Regions from separate parts of the Homo sapiens genome. Here region 1 is linked to region 2. The links are contacts of gene promoters, found by promoter capture Hi-C in blood cells and fetal thymus (Javierre and others, 2016). All regions are on one chromosome and are shown on one strand. Each heading gives the region's core, a stretch centred on a gene start or on the middle of the fragment in contact. The rest is flanking DNA. Distances are from core to core; before and after follow the strand shown. Region 1 holds the start of OR52L1 (olfactory receptor family 52 subfamily L member 1). Region 2 holds the start of OR56B4 (olfactory receptor family 56 subfamily B member 4).

Region 1 (7,466 bases), core at 3,849-6,348, 120 kb before region 2:
TCAGTCAACTAGCTTCATTTATGGATATATTCAGGGGGCCATGGTTCAACTCAGCACTCCTGGGTTGTGTGCTCTAACCCTGAGGAGCTGGGACAAGGCCCATGGCTGTGTTCTCTGGCCCCTCTAAGCTAAGCACCTACTGCACTGGAGGAGCCAAGGTGTTCTCCGTCCCGTGGCAACAACAGTCCAGTGGAGGGTGCTGCCAAAAGTGCTTCATCAGGGAAGTGGCAGGAGAGTCCTCACTTACACGTGTGTTCAGGCAGTGTCAGGGCAGCACATGTGCTGGCAGTGGCAGAGTGATGGCATGGTGGCAGTGGCAGTGCAATGACAGTGGTAGTTTAATGGCATAGTGGGGTCCACGCATACGTGTGCATTGGCAGTGGAAGGGTGGTGACGTTGAGGTTTGTGTACGTGTATGTGCATTGGCGATGGCGGGGTGTCAATGTCTGCATGACTCTAGCAAAGCAGTGGGGGCAGGGTGCAGGTGAGTGCATGTCAGCAGGGGTCGGGGGGCTTCTGCCAAAGCTCTCTGACAATTAGGTGGAGTCTGCTAGTGAAGGAGCTATGGCAGTTGCCACTGGGAAGCTCCCTGGTTTGGCAACTGAGGCTGTGATGAAGCACATGGAGCCATGCTGGGACCCAGAAAGAGGCTGGCAGACAGGGCAGCACTCAGATCAGACTTGCCTGGTCGCACAGGCAAGATATCCCTGTTCTCTACAGGGCCAACAGTCAACAAGGTCAAAGCCACCTAGAGGAGCATGGCAAGCCTTGGGGGATGGGTGTCTCTGTGTTCCACTGCAGCCAGTCCCATGCCAAACCCTCTGGGCTCCACATAGACTGGAGTCCCGTTCCTTCCATGTCTCCAAACACTTCTCCCTGATAGCTCAAATGTTTATGGGGGTTGTGGGGTCCCCTGCAGCTAGGATTCCAGAGGTACATGGAGAGTGGGCCACACATTGCCTATTTAATTCACTCCTTCCCCAGGAGCCACTCAAGGCCAGAAATGAGACCTGGTGCTCAGCAACCCCATGCAGGATTTCCAGCTTCCTCCTCTTTCAGCCCAGCGTCTGTGTCCTCCCTCAGTCTGCTCTCAATTCCTCCCTTCCAAAGATCTGCCCAAAGTGTTGTCAGTATTCTTGATGGTTTTGTCTCTTGGTGGGAGAAGCTCTTCCTGGCTGTGTCTAGTCAGCCATATTGGCTCTTCTCTATTCTGCTCTCATCACTATGAATACCTTACTCTTGTTTACCTTGGACTTAATTTATTGTTCCTTTTCTAAATTCTTAAGTTGTTAACTTAGATAATTGATTTTACAACTTTACTCTTTTCTAATATAGGCATTTAAAGTATAAATTTTTCTCTGTTTTCTCTTTGGCTACATCTCACAACTTTTGCTATATGTACTTTTCAATCAGTTTGAAATATTTTCTGACTTCCTCTGTGATTTCTTAGTTGATCCATGGGTTATTGAGATGTATTTAGTTTAGTTTCCAATTATTTAACTCTTTTCATGCTACCTTATTGTTATTGTTTTCCAATTTAATTCTGTATTGGTAAGAGACTATGACCCTGCACACATACTAAAAAAAAAAAAAAATCTCCTGCCCCTGCTCCCCATGCCTTTCTAAACCCCCATGTGACATTAGCAATAAGCCCAAAGTTCCCTCACCCAAAGGATGAGAAGGCTCCCTCATACTGCCTATTAGAACAAAACTCATTCTCTACACTTTATACTTCCACAGAGGAAGGCTCTTCTTCCTCTCCCCACAAGGGGGACATATGGGAGTGAATACTTCTCTCTTCTCTCCGGTTTCTTCTCTCCTTTGCTTGCTTTTCCATATGGGAAGAAGGGTCACTAATACAATTGGGCAGAGATCATTGGGAGCAATGGATGCAATGGATGGGGTTATTGTGTTTCAAAAGTACAAAACATGTTCTGATCTGTTTCACTGCCTGCCTCATGGATATGTAAGGATGGTAGTAAACACTCTCTTTTTTTGTATTTAAATACCATAGCCTAACCTGCATAAGAGCCTGTGACCTGCTTTTTAGAGAGAAACCTGGAAAACAGCCACTCACTGTTTTGCATTTTATATTCCGCTAAGGTTCCATTTATGAGATTTTGCGATGTCTTTCAGATGGCTGGATAATTGTGCTTGGAGTCGAATTTTCAAATTAAATTGCCTCATGTCCAGGTGGAATAAGGTAGTAGGAAGAGGTGCAAAGATTTAGAATTAAGAGTCTCTCCTCTATCCTCTGGTTCCACTTGTATTTTCTAATTATGACTTACCAGAGAACCCTGCATTAAAGACATTTTTAAACAAACAAAAACTGCAAACCTTTACAAGAGGGAATTCTAAAAGATATACTTCAGGCAAAAGAATACATATCCCACTTGGAAGATCTGAGATGAAAAACGTATACTTTTTAGGCTGTAGGTTGGTCTGTTACAACAAAGATTACCAAAAAAATGGTGGTTTAACCCAGATACAGGTTTATTTCTGTTTCAGGTTCAAGTCATGGTTGGTGGCCCAGACAGTGTCAGGAACACAGCTCTTCTGTATTGTTACTCTTCCATCTTCAGTTCACATTTCTGTCTTGTGATCCAAGAAAGCTGCCTGAGATGAAGCTTAGACTCTCTAGGGTTAAGAGAGTTTGTTACAATAGATGTAATACATCATACCCTGATTTTCTCTAGGACAATTTACCAGAGTTTAAGCCCTAGACTGGGAATGAAGCTGATTAGAATGTGCAATTCCTCCTGCAATAAAAACAGCTCATACCAGTCCTCCCTAATTCATCTACTTGCAACGGCCAAGTTAAAGGCCTGATACTAAGCCTCTCAGACAGAGTACTAGTTATTATGAGTAAAATTTACTAAGAAAAGAAAAACTAGAAAAAACAACTATTAACTCTACCCCTCCTACCAATATGAAATCCCAAAATAAATCTTATCTCCCGAGCATCTTACATCAAAGTAGCAATGACTTGACTTCTTCCATGACTAAACAAAATGTGTTACCTTCTAGGAACAAAAATAATTAGGCCAGATCTCAGGGCAACATCAACAAACAGGTTGCAATATATCAATTGTAGCAGTCATCTTTTAAGTTTTCACCCAGTTCCTATTAACAGAAATAGAAGATCTAATTGACACCACTCCACATGCCCTATTTCCAAAAGAGAAACCCATTTTTAAGTGTCCATAACTGCTACTATACTTATTGCTTTATTTATTATAGCTATGTTTACCAACACCGGGATCTAGCACATTTTGTAGTTATTAGATGCTAATAATTATATGGTTACTTTTGGGTTTTTTAATGAATATTTATAAAACAAACATATACGCAGTACTTGGTCTTATTCCTTCTTTATCCAAAGCATGAATATAAATAAGTTGAAAATACAAAGAGATATCTTTTAAAATAAATTTCCTAGACACATATAGATTTCTTCCTTGAAAATAGAAATTATATTTTATTATTCCTAGAGCCTATTACCATAACTTCTCCACTTATGTTTGTTTTAAATAAATAAGTAATACCCATATTGCAATAAATGCTGTTTTCTTACACTGCGACCTTCTCAGCTGCTTTGAAGAGACCCTATTGGTAAACAGGAGCCAATGATCTGGGGATCCCAGCACTAACTTAGAGGTTTTGAAGAAACTCTAAACCTAAAACCAACCAAAGGGTGGGACTTTACAATTCCAGACAGTGTTGCATGGCCTACCATTGGGCAAAGGCGAGAAAGATGACACATTCAGAGCTATCATCTATTTCTCCTATCCCCAAGTCCTACTGACACAAGGAGTAGAGAAATGTTGAAATCAAGAGCAAAAGAAAAAATGGCAAAAATATTCACAAATCCAGATATCCAGGTACATCCCAATAAGCCAAGTATCTGTGGGTGTTCTTTAGCATGGCACTAGTAAGACTAGAAGGAATACTCACTGCAAAATGGTCTGTATTCATGTAATCTACACCAGTCACAGGCTCCTGGCTGTGGTCCGCAGAAGAAGCCTCCGAAGGAAACAATGAGAATATGTTCAGATCAATCCTTTTGTGTAAACACTCTGAGCACTCGCTGGCGGATCTGCTGAGTCTTCACTCCATAGACAAGAGGATTGAGCGCAGGTGGCATGAGGAGATACCGTGTGGCCAGAAGAACATGGACATGATGGGGTACATGATGACCAAAGCGGTGAGTGAGGAAGGAGAAAATTCCAGGGACATAGAAGACCAGGATGACACAAATATGAGAGCCACATGTGCTAAACGCCTTAAGTCGGGCCTCACTCCCTGGTACCTTCAGCACTGCCTGGAGGATGTGGGCATAGGAAACACCAATGGCCAGAACATCCAGCCCAATCACAAGCAAGGCCATAGTCAGCCCATAAGCTCGATTGACTGTGGTTTCTGAGCAGGCAAGTTTCACAACAGCCATATGTTCACAATAGGCATGGCCTATGATGGTGGCTTGGCAGAAGATAAGTGTTCCCAACAAAATGGGGAAGGGGATAAGGAGTAGTAATCCCCTCACCAGCACCACCATTCCGATGCGCCCTATGACCCCTGGATGCAGGATTGTGGAATGGTGCAAGGGGTGACAAATGGCTACATAGCGATCCAGAGCCATGGCCACAAGTACCCCTGACTCCATGGAGGAGAATGCATGGATGAAGAACATCTGGATCAGGCAGACGATGTACCCAATCTCGTGGGCATGAACCAGGAGCACTGCAAGGGCTTTGGGTGCAGTGGAGGAGGCCAGAACCAGGTCGATGGCAGCTAGCATGGACAGGAAGAGGTACATAGATTGGTGCAAGGATGGGTCCATCCAGATGATGAAGAGAATGGTAACATTGCCCACTAAAGCAAGGAGGTAAAGGATGCCCAGGGGCAGTGCAATCCAGTGCTGGCTTTCCTCTAAACCTGGAATCCCTACCAGGAGAAAAGAAGGCTGGGATAGCCTCCAGCTTGAATTGCTAAGGAGCATTATCAATGGCTTGGAGAGGAAAGAGAAAAAAGAAACCAAAGTCATGATTTCTGCATTCCTGCTACATTATCACATTGTCCAAATGGGGCAACCATCATCCTGAGAAGAATAAAGTGACTTCAACTGCAAACGAAGGGAATAAAGTTAGCTACAGGGAAGAAAATCTCCTTTGGTGGAGATAATTCTTTTACAAGTGAGACATCCACATGTCTGAATTAATACAAGCTTAGTTTTGTTTAGAGATAAGAGTAAACATAAGCTGCTTTTGGAGAGATGCTTAAACTCTACTATTCAGTTGCTTATATTTTGGAACTGTCAACTTCAAAGAGTTATTTTTATTAGCCTCTTGGTATTACTGACCACTGTGAATCAATCTGTTGTTTTTGAAATTAGTCTTCCTCAGTTTCCATGACATGGCACTCCAGAGTTGTTCCCCCTGTAGCCTTGGTCCCACCATTTTCTCTATCTCATTATGTCATTGATTCCAGGGATCCATCCTCTCCTGTATTCCCTATTCTGTGCATTATCTCTTAATTGACTTCATTTATTCCCATGGTTTTAACTGTTTATATACTTTTATTTCTTCCAAATTTATGTCTGTTTACCCAAATATCCTTCTGAAATATAAATCCATTTTTCCATTTGCTTTATGAATATCTATACACCACATCCTCAACATATTCAACATTGGATTAATTCACCTATTTTTCCCAAATTTGTTCTACTTATGTTTTGGCAATAATTTTTAATTACATCCCTAGCTACCTACACAACCCAATCTAAAAACTTGGAACCTGTCTTTACTCATAATCCTCATCCCCTTTTATTCATTCACCAATTCATGTTGACTTTATGTTAACCCCTCTTATATCCACTCCTTCTTCTCAACCCCCAATATCACTACCTTAGTTTACACCCAACTTCTCTCACCTGGACTATTTCATAACATCTTTCTGCCTTTGCCATAAACACCTTCCCAATTCACTCTCAACCCTGAAGTCATGGGTTTTTTTTCTAAAATGCAGATCTCATCATATCACTCCTAAGATTAAAATCCTTTGGTGAATTTATTGCATGGAATAAAATCATACTTTGAGACTGGCATAAAAGATTATCAAAAGTTATCTTTTTTGCATTACTTTTGTCTTACAGTTGATATATTTCTACATATGTTTTACTAACCATCCCTGCATTCTTGGAGTTACATGTACACACCAAGCTTACCTATGCCTTTTGTGTAGTCTGTCTCCAAATTCCTTTATCTGAATTGGTCCTTCAAAATTCAAAGTCCACTGTCACCCCTCAAAAGGACTCATTGCCTATGTCAGATGAATATTGATTATGTTCAGAGCACTTTATAATCTTCCTTTATTCATCCATAACTTTCTGACTTATCTCTAGAAATTCTATCAGTGTCTTAATGGTTTGTTTTTTTAAAGAAACATATCTTATTATACTTTATAATTATAACATAGCATGGTGAACATTTCACAATGTAGTGAGATAAATAAAAGCAATGGAGGAAGACAGACTTAGTTTAAATTTTGTCCATTTCATATTCTAGGAATAAAACCTTGGCAGGATACTAAAACTCTCTCAGTCTTGATTTCCTTATTTTATAACTAACATCAATCTTACAGGTTTATTGTAAACATTAATTAAGTAATATATGTAAAGTCTTGATATCTAGATTAGTCTACAAATTATAGTTATAATTATTTTAATATTAGCAATAGAAGATGACTGAGAATTAGACCACAGGCTTCTTTCTTTTCTTCTTTGTCTCCATGACTCTGCTTCTCTTTTTCAAACTTTTGATATGTTTACCTCTCATCATGATATTATAACAAACAATTCAGTGTCTTTGACAACCGCATGTTAACATGAAGTATCAACTTTGTCCATGGGATTCACCCTTGAAATTTACTAAAAGAAAAAACTTGAAACTGGATATGTGTATGTAGGTATGTTTGTCTTAAAGGACAGGCGTAGTCTGAAATAACTGTATTTTTCTCTGTTGGAGTGGTGGTGCACATGTGCGTGTAAAGATTAAAAAGTCAAGAATGACTTAGTTCTTGTGGATAATGCATCCATAGATTACTCAGAGCTCTTTTTGTACAAATTAATGATGACAATCATATTGCCCTAAAACTCTGAATATGATAGCTATAAAGTCTGAAATGCCACGTGGGCATATATCTCCCAAGTTTCTCTGTTTTTCTTCTAGAATCAACTTGAAATAACAATGACATTTTTATTGAGACATCCAGGGGAATCTCATAATCTTACAAAAATTCACCTCTCAGTGCTTAACATTCCACATAGAGAGAAAGTCCATTGTCTTTTTTGCCTACCTCCTTCTGTTGCACGCTTCAGCCCATTTCTCATTTTTTAGCTAAGGAGTCAGAGAACAGCTGTGCATTTGTGGAAGGCACTCAAGACTTGAATAGTAGCAGTGTGAGCAGAG
Region 2 (6,710 bases), core at 612-3,111:
TACACATGTTTGGGAGCTTAAAAAGTGGATCTCAGCTGGGCACGGTGGCTCACGCCTGTAATCCCAGCACTTTGGGAGGCCAAGGCAGGCAGATCACCTGAGGTCAGGAGTTTGAGACCAGCCTCGCCAACATGGTGAAACCCCATCTCTACTAAAAATACAAAAATTAGCCGGGTGTGGTGGCACACACCTGTAATCCCAGCTACTCGGGAGGCTGAGGCAGGAGAATCGCTTGAACCTGGGAGGTGGAGTTTGCAGTGAGCCGGAAAAAGAAAAAAAGTGGATCTCACAGAAGTAATGAATAGAATGGTGGTTACCAGAGGCCGGAAAGGGTGGGGGTAGGGGAAGAATAGAGGGTGGCTGATGGGGACAAAAATACAGTTAGGTGGAAGAAATAAGTTCTAGTATTCAATAGCACAGTAGGAAAATTATAGTTAATAATTTACTGTATGTTTCAAAATCGCTAAAAGAGAATTGCAATGTTCCTAACACAAAGAAAAGATAAATGCTTGAGGTGATGGATATCCTAATTACACTGATTCGATCATTACACATTGTATACATGTATCAAAATATCACATGTACCTCCAAAATATCTACAAATATGATATATCAATTCTAAAAATACAAAAAAAAATCATTAAACTATAGGGCATCTAGGTGGTAGAAAATAATGCAACTTAACTGCAGTATGGAAATATGGAGCAGTCTTCAAAATATTAAGTTAAAAAAGAAAAGGAAAGAAAAAAGGAGAAAGGTGTGCTAACAATTGATTATGTCTTTTATGAAAATTATATATATATATATATATATATATATATGTTTTTATCCATGCATAAACTATTAATGGAAGGATTCCCAAGAAACATATTACTGGCTGCCTCTAGTGAAAAGGAAAAAGATTTCAAAGCCCCAAGCATGAGAGTCTTACTTTTCATTGTTTATATTTTTCATTTTATTTTGATTTTTACCATGTATAGATAATATATCTTAAAATAAAATCAAAATTATATTTAAAATTTTAAGACTATTATATCCTTTGTATATATAATTTTTGCATCACTTTTGAAACTCTACTCAAGGAAAACAATATTAAAAGCAAAATACCTGTCAGTAAATTATAGAATAGCCAAATGCAAAAATTTAAAGCAGCAATTAAAATTAACATCACACTTTTTAAATAATATTGTGAAGTCTTTGGTTAATGTATTCATCCATGAAATAAAATTTTTGAGTGCTTATATTACATCTTAACACATACTGCTAAAAGACAAAAACAAGATACAAAATCATCTCTAGATAATGATGTAGACTGTTTAAAAATAAAATAGAAAATTGGAAATAAATCAAATACTAACATTTGTTATCTGTTAGTGATAAGACTGTTGTTAATATATGTGGACATGCTTATTAGACATACAAGTGGTGATGAAAAATAGTTATTCCAACTCTTCTGTTTAGAATTTTTTTGCTTTTTTTGTTATTCCTCTGTGGAATATTTCCAGAAGTCAAATAAAGTTGAGGGTCATTCATGAATAAAAGGAGCTGGTTCATTATTGAGGAGCTCTTACCAAGACACTTAACTTTTTGTTTTGTTTTGTTTTTTAAGACAGGGTCTCACTCTGTTGTCCAGGCTGGGGTGCAGTGGCACAATCTCGGCTCACGGCAACCTCCGCCTCCCAGGTTCAATGATTCTCATGCCTCAGCCTCCCAAGTAGCTGGGATTACAGACAGGCACCACCACACCCAGCTAATTTTTGTATTCTCCGCAGAGATGAGATTTTGCCATGTTAGCCAGGTCAGTCTCGAGCTCCTGACCTCAAATTATCTGCCTGTCTCAGCCTCCCAAAGTGCTGGGATTACAGGCATGAACCACGATGCTCAGCCCCTTAGCTGAACTTTTAAACAGAGATTTCTTCTATTTCAGACAGACACTGAGACTGAGGCACCCATTCCATGGATACCTCCACCAGTGTTACCTATGACTCCAGCCTCCAGATTTCCCAGTTCATCCTGATGGGATTACCAGGCATTCATGAGTGGCAGCACTGGCTCTCCCTGCCCCTGACTCTGCTCTACCTCTTAGCTCTTGGTGCCAATCTCCTCATCATAATCACCATTCAACATGAGACCGTGCTACATGAACCCATGTACCATTTGCTGGGCATATTAGCAGTGGTGGACATTGGCCTGGCCACCACCATCATGCCCAAGATCCTGGCCATCTTCTGGTTTGATGCCAAGGCCATTAGCCTCCCCATGTGTTTTGCTCAGATCTATGCCATCCACTGCTTCTTCTGCATAGAGTCAGGCATCTTTCTCTGCATGGCAGTAGACAGATACATAGCCATCTGTCGCCCTCTTCAGTACCCCTCCATAGTCACTAAAGCTTTTGTCTTCAAAGCCACAGGGTTCATCATGCTCAGGAATGGCCTGTTGACCATCCCAGTGCCTATACTGGCTGCCCAGAGACACTACTGTTCCAGGAATGAAATCGAGCACTGCCTCTGCTCTAACTTGGGGGTTATCAGCCTGGCTTGTGATGACATCACTGTGAACAAATTTTACCAACTGATGCTAGCATGGGTCTTGGTTGGGAGTGATATGGCTCTGGTATTTTCTTCCTATGCTGTAATCCTTCACTCTGTGCTGAGGCTGAACTCAGCAGAAGCAATGTCCAAGGCTCTGAGCACTTGTAGCTCCCACCTCATCCTCATCCTCTTCCACACAGGTATCATTGTGCTGTCTGTCACACACCTTGCAGAGAAAAAGATTCCCCTTATTCCTGTGTTCCTTAATGTGCTGCACAATGTCATCCCCCCTGCACTCAACCCCCTGGCCTGTGCACTCAGGATGCACAAACTCAGACTGGGCTTTCAGAGACTGCTTGGACTGGGTCAGGACGTGTCCAAGTAACTCCAGCTTTAGGAATCCAGTAAGATGTTAGGAAATGACAGAGGTTTTAGTTCTCAATAGATCAGGGTTATAATCTGCACTTACCACACTCCCTAGGAAAAAAATGGCCAATAAAATCATGAAAACTGTCAGCCTCACTAATCAAAATATGTATATTAAAATTACAAGAAAATTTCCTATTACCTGGAAAATAAGTAAGAACAAAAAAGTGAAATGTTTCTAACTATTACTGCTAGCCTACCCCGAGATTAACACTTTCCTACACAACTGGTAGGACTATAAACACACCAAAAAGCAATTTGGTAAAATTTATCAAAATGTTTATAAATGTTTAAATGTTCTTAACCAGTAATTCTATTTTAGAAAAATATCCAAAAGAAATAGTCTAAATGCAGTCAAAAAGTTATTCATAAAAATCATTATAATATGACTAATAATAGAAAACAAAGCCTTTAATATTTACACATATTTAACTCTTACATATTTATGTGCTTTTCATATGTAATTTTTATAATAAAAAGTAAACAATAAATGTTTATTAAAAAGGAGTAAAGTTTAATTTTCGTACCCAAAAAAATCTCAATAATTAATGAATTAATGGTTAACAAGTGTTAAATACTTCTTGTAGGCCAGAAACTTTGATAAAATATGTATGTAGATTATCTGACTCAATTCTCACAATAACCCTTTGGGCAGGTACAATATTATTCCCAATTTCCAGCTAAGAAAACTCAGGCACTGGAAATTATAGAACTTGCCCCCTGACAGCACAGTTTCTAAGTGGGAGAGCTGGGATTCAAGTCCTGGGAAGTCTGATTGAAAAACCATAGCACTATTCTTACTCTCAGTCTTGCTCTGTTCCAAAATTTCTGTGTGAACTTGAACAACTTATGAAACCTCCCTATGTTTCAATTCTTCTGATTAAAAGTGACAAAAATCATAACATTTTGCTGAGCCAAATCGCAAACATGCTGTGACAATCAAAAGAGATAAAGAATACATGCTTTGAAATAAGATATACACATGGAAATATAAATCTAACTATGTGGCAGTTTTCTTGCTAGGAAAGGAAGAAAATGGATCCTAGAAAATGCCCTATAAAAATAGTTTCAAATAACCTGTTAATTAAAGCTAACTGAATTTTTGCTGTTTGCTCACCTAAAAAAATTGCACACTTTTTGAGTACAAGAACCATTCATGTGTACTTTCAATGAGCCTCAGTCAGAACATTGCACACAGTAGGTGCTTAATTCATTATATAATCAGGGAGCATTATAGATCTGTTGAATTATGTGTATCAAAGAAAATACCTGGACCATGGTCTGAATAATGACCTCAGGAAGTTTGCACATGAGTCCACCTTGGAAAACAACTTCTTAGGAAATAGCACAAGGACTAAAGCAACATCAGAAACCATCAGCTCATCTCACCAGAGTAATGCATGCTGGGCAGCATAACAGAGCTGCAGGGGGAAGTCATCTGTGTGCGGGACAGGACTTCTTAAGAGTTATGCTTGGAAACTTACCCAAAAAGAGACTATCAACTTCCTCCAAAAGAATTGGCTGCTTCATTCTTTCTTGACAGTGATTCAAATGGAAGCAACTGATCATCTAATAAGAGGAGGCAAGAGAGAGACAATTACAGAAAGGATTTTAACTTAACTCAACCTCCCATGGTTTGTTACCCTGAAGGATCAGAGTAATAACATCTAATCCTGCAGAGTTCTTCACAGTTTGCAAAATACTTTCCCACAGTGGATTGAGTAATTTCACATAATTTTCATAGCAGTCCTCTTAATTAGGAAGCTGTTAAAGGATTACTATTAATTCTTTTCTACAAAGAAATAGGGGCTAAGTTTGGGTAATTATATAAATTCACCCACTGGGAAGTGGCAGTACTGAGGCTCAGGCAGTTTAGCTGTCTCTGGTAGATGGCAATAGTGTGCCATCCTCAAAGCTGCCTTTAAACTTTCATTCATACATACCTTTATTTATTTATTTGTTTATTTATTCATTCATTCAAAAATACATAGCATGAGTCTATGCACAGCAGCCCAAATTGTAGGCCACTCTCAACAACTTCTGTGGACATGTGTCTCAGTTCTTCTGAAAATAAATAAACACCTAACATTCATCTTGGAGTCAGGAAGATTTATGCAATTAATTATTCTCTCCTCTATATGTGCCATGAGGATAAAAAAAGATTGTGCATTGTTTTATTTTTATGAATTATTTATGTTTGTCATGTATTTCATATTTGCCCATATGCTTTGCTTTATATGATTTTAATACTGTCATACTATATTTGCCTGTTTGTCTTCTCTCATTCACTTCTTTCCATATTCCTTTGATATTTTAACTTTAGTCTGTCTTTTGGAAACACCGTTAGTTTGATCTTTATTTTTAACCATATTTGAGGAACTTTCCCTTTAAATAGGGGAACTAAGTCCATTCATATTTGTTATAATTCCTATGATTTTGTTTTGTTTCACCCTGTCATCTTATTTATTTTTATTATGTTTTCTGGCAGATTTCTCCTACTCCTGACTTTTGCTGAACTGATCTCTTTCACACATCTCCCCACATCCCCATTTCATTGATCTGCACATTTTATTAAATATATCTATTTGACAGGTTGTTGTATGCATAACTTTATTAACACATTCAAACTTATACTTTTTTATTAATATGCCCAAATTACATAATAGTTATGCAGTATTTTCTCATTCCAATTCCAAGCTCAAGATAAGAACTTTATCATTTTTATGTCTCTTTTATTCTCTGTTGAACATCTCACTGAATATGGCACATTCCAAAGACAAGCATAATAATAGCTCCCACCTCACATGCTCTTTTGCAGTGAAACATTAACAATTCCGTATCAAGAAATTGAACTTAGTTCCCCTTCTCCTTGAATCTGAGCCTCACTGATTCACTTTTAACCAAGAGAATGTGACAGAAGTCCAAAAAAAGCCATTCAGCATCCACTTGTGTCTCCTGGAAAATTTGCTCCCTGGTTGCTCCCTGGAGGATGCTCCCTGTCAGAATCCAGCTGTCACGTGATGAGAAGTCTAAACCACATGACAAGGCCAAGTATGGGGACTCTAGTCAACAGCCCCAGCTGAGCCCAGCCTTGGAATCATGCTAGCCCAGGAAGTCTAACATGTGAGTGAAGATGTCTTCAACAGATTCCAGTCACTAACCATTTGATCACCTCCAGCTGTCTGAGTCTTCTGAGCCAAGGCTGCATATTTGTGAAGTAGAAGTATGCCATCATCACGGCACTGCTCTTAAATTCCTGACACAGAGAATCTGTGAGCATGATAAAATAAGTGTTGTTTGATACCACTATCTTTAGGGTGATCTGTTAAAAAGCATAGATAACTAGAACACTGGATTTTACTAAAATAATTTGGAATTTTAGTTCTAAGTCATAATTACTTTTTAAAGCATGTCGCTTCCAATTCAAAAATGTCTTAGAATTTTTAATATTCACAACTACATTATCAAAATTTATTTCTATTTGACTGTGAAGCTTTACTAAATTCATTGTTCATAGCAATTTCTAGTATGCTTCATTCTTCCAATATATTATTTGGTGTCCAATCAGGAGAGAGAAACCACATGAATTTCAACAGGAGAAAGTTAATATAAATAATTTTTAATTATAACAAGGGATTGGAGTATCAAGAGATTGACTAGTAAGTAGAGAAAACGCTAAAGAATATAAGAATAGTAGATGCAGGGAGGAGCCATTGTCACTACAGATGAGAGAGACTACCTAAGATAAAGGAC

Evidence for each region. The method cuts DNA at HindIII sites, captures the fragments that hold promoters and counts their contacts. A CHiCAGO score of 5 or more calls a contact.
Region 1: the fragment with the promoter of OR52L1 here is called in contact with the fragment with the promoter of OR56B4 in region 2 in 12 of 17 cell types (activated CD4 T cells, erythroblasts, M2 macrophages and 9 more); the score reaches 9.0 in activated CD4 T cells.

The regions. Positions count from the first base shown.
Region 1 is chr11:5,981,887-5,989,352 of GRCh38, forward strand. OR52L1 (olfactory receptor family 52 subfamily L member 1) reads right to left here and starts at 5,099. Exons shown (of 1, transcript NM_001005173.3): 1 at 4,006-5,099. The coding sequence starts at 5,044. The coding sequence ends at 4,055. It overlaps LOC124902621 (a long non-coding RNA gene), which reads right to left and starts at 3,190. Exons shown (of 2, transcript XR_007062564.1): 1 at 3,021-3,190; 2 at 2,480-2,637. It also overlaps a transcript of OR56A3 not described here. The HindIII fragment of the contact is 2,597 bases long and covers 2,626-5,222 here.
Region 2 is chr11:6,105,823-6,112,532 of GRCh38, forward strand. OR56B4 (olfactory receptor family 56 subfamily B member 4) reads left to right here and starts at 1,862. Exons shown (of 1, transcript NM_001005181.2): 1 at 1,862-3,013. The coding sequence starts at 1,957. The coding sequence ends at 2,916. LOC124902622 (a long non-coding RNA gene) reads right to left here and starts at 6,227. Exons shown (of 3, transcript XR_007062565.1): 1 at 6,119-6,227; 2 at 4,442-4,526. The HindIII fragment of the contact is 4,106 bases long and covers 1-2,387 here.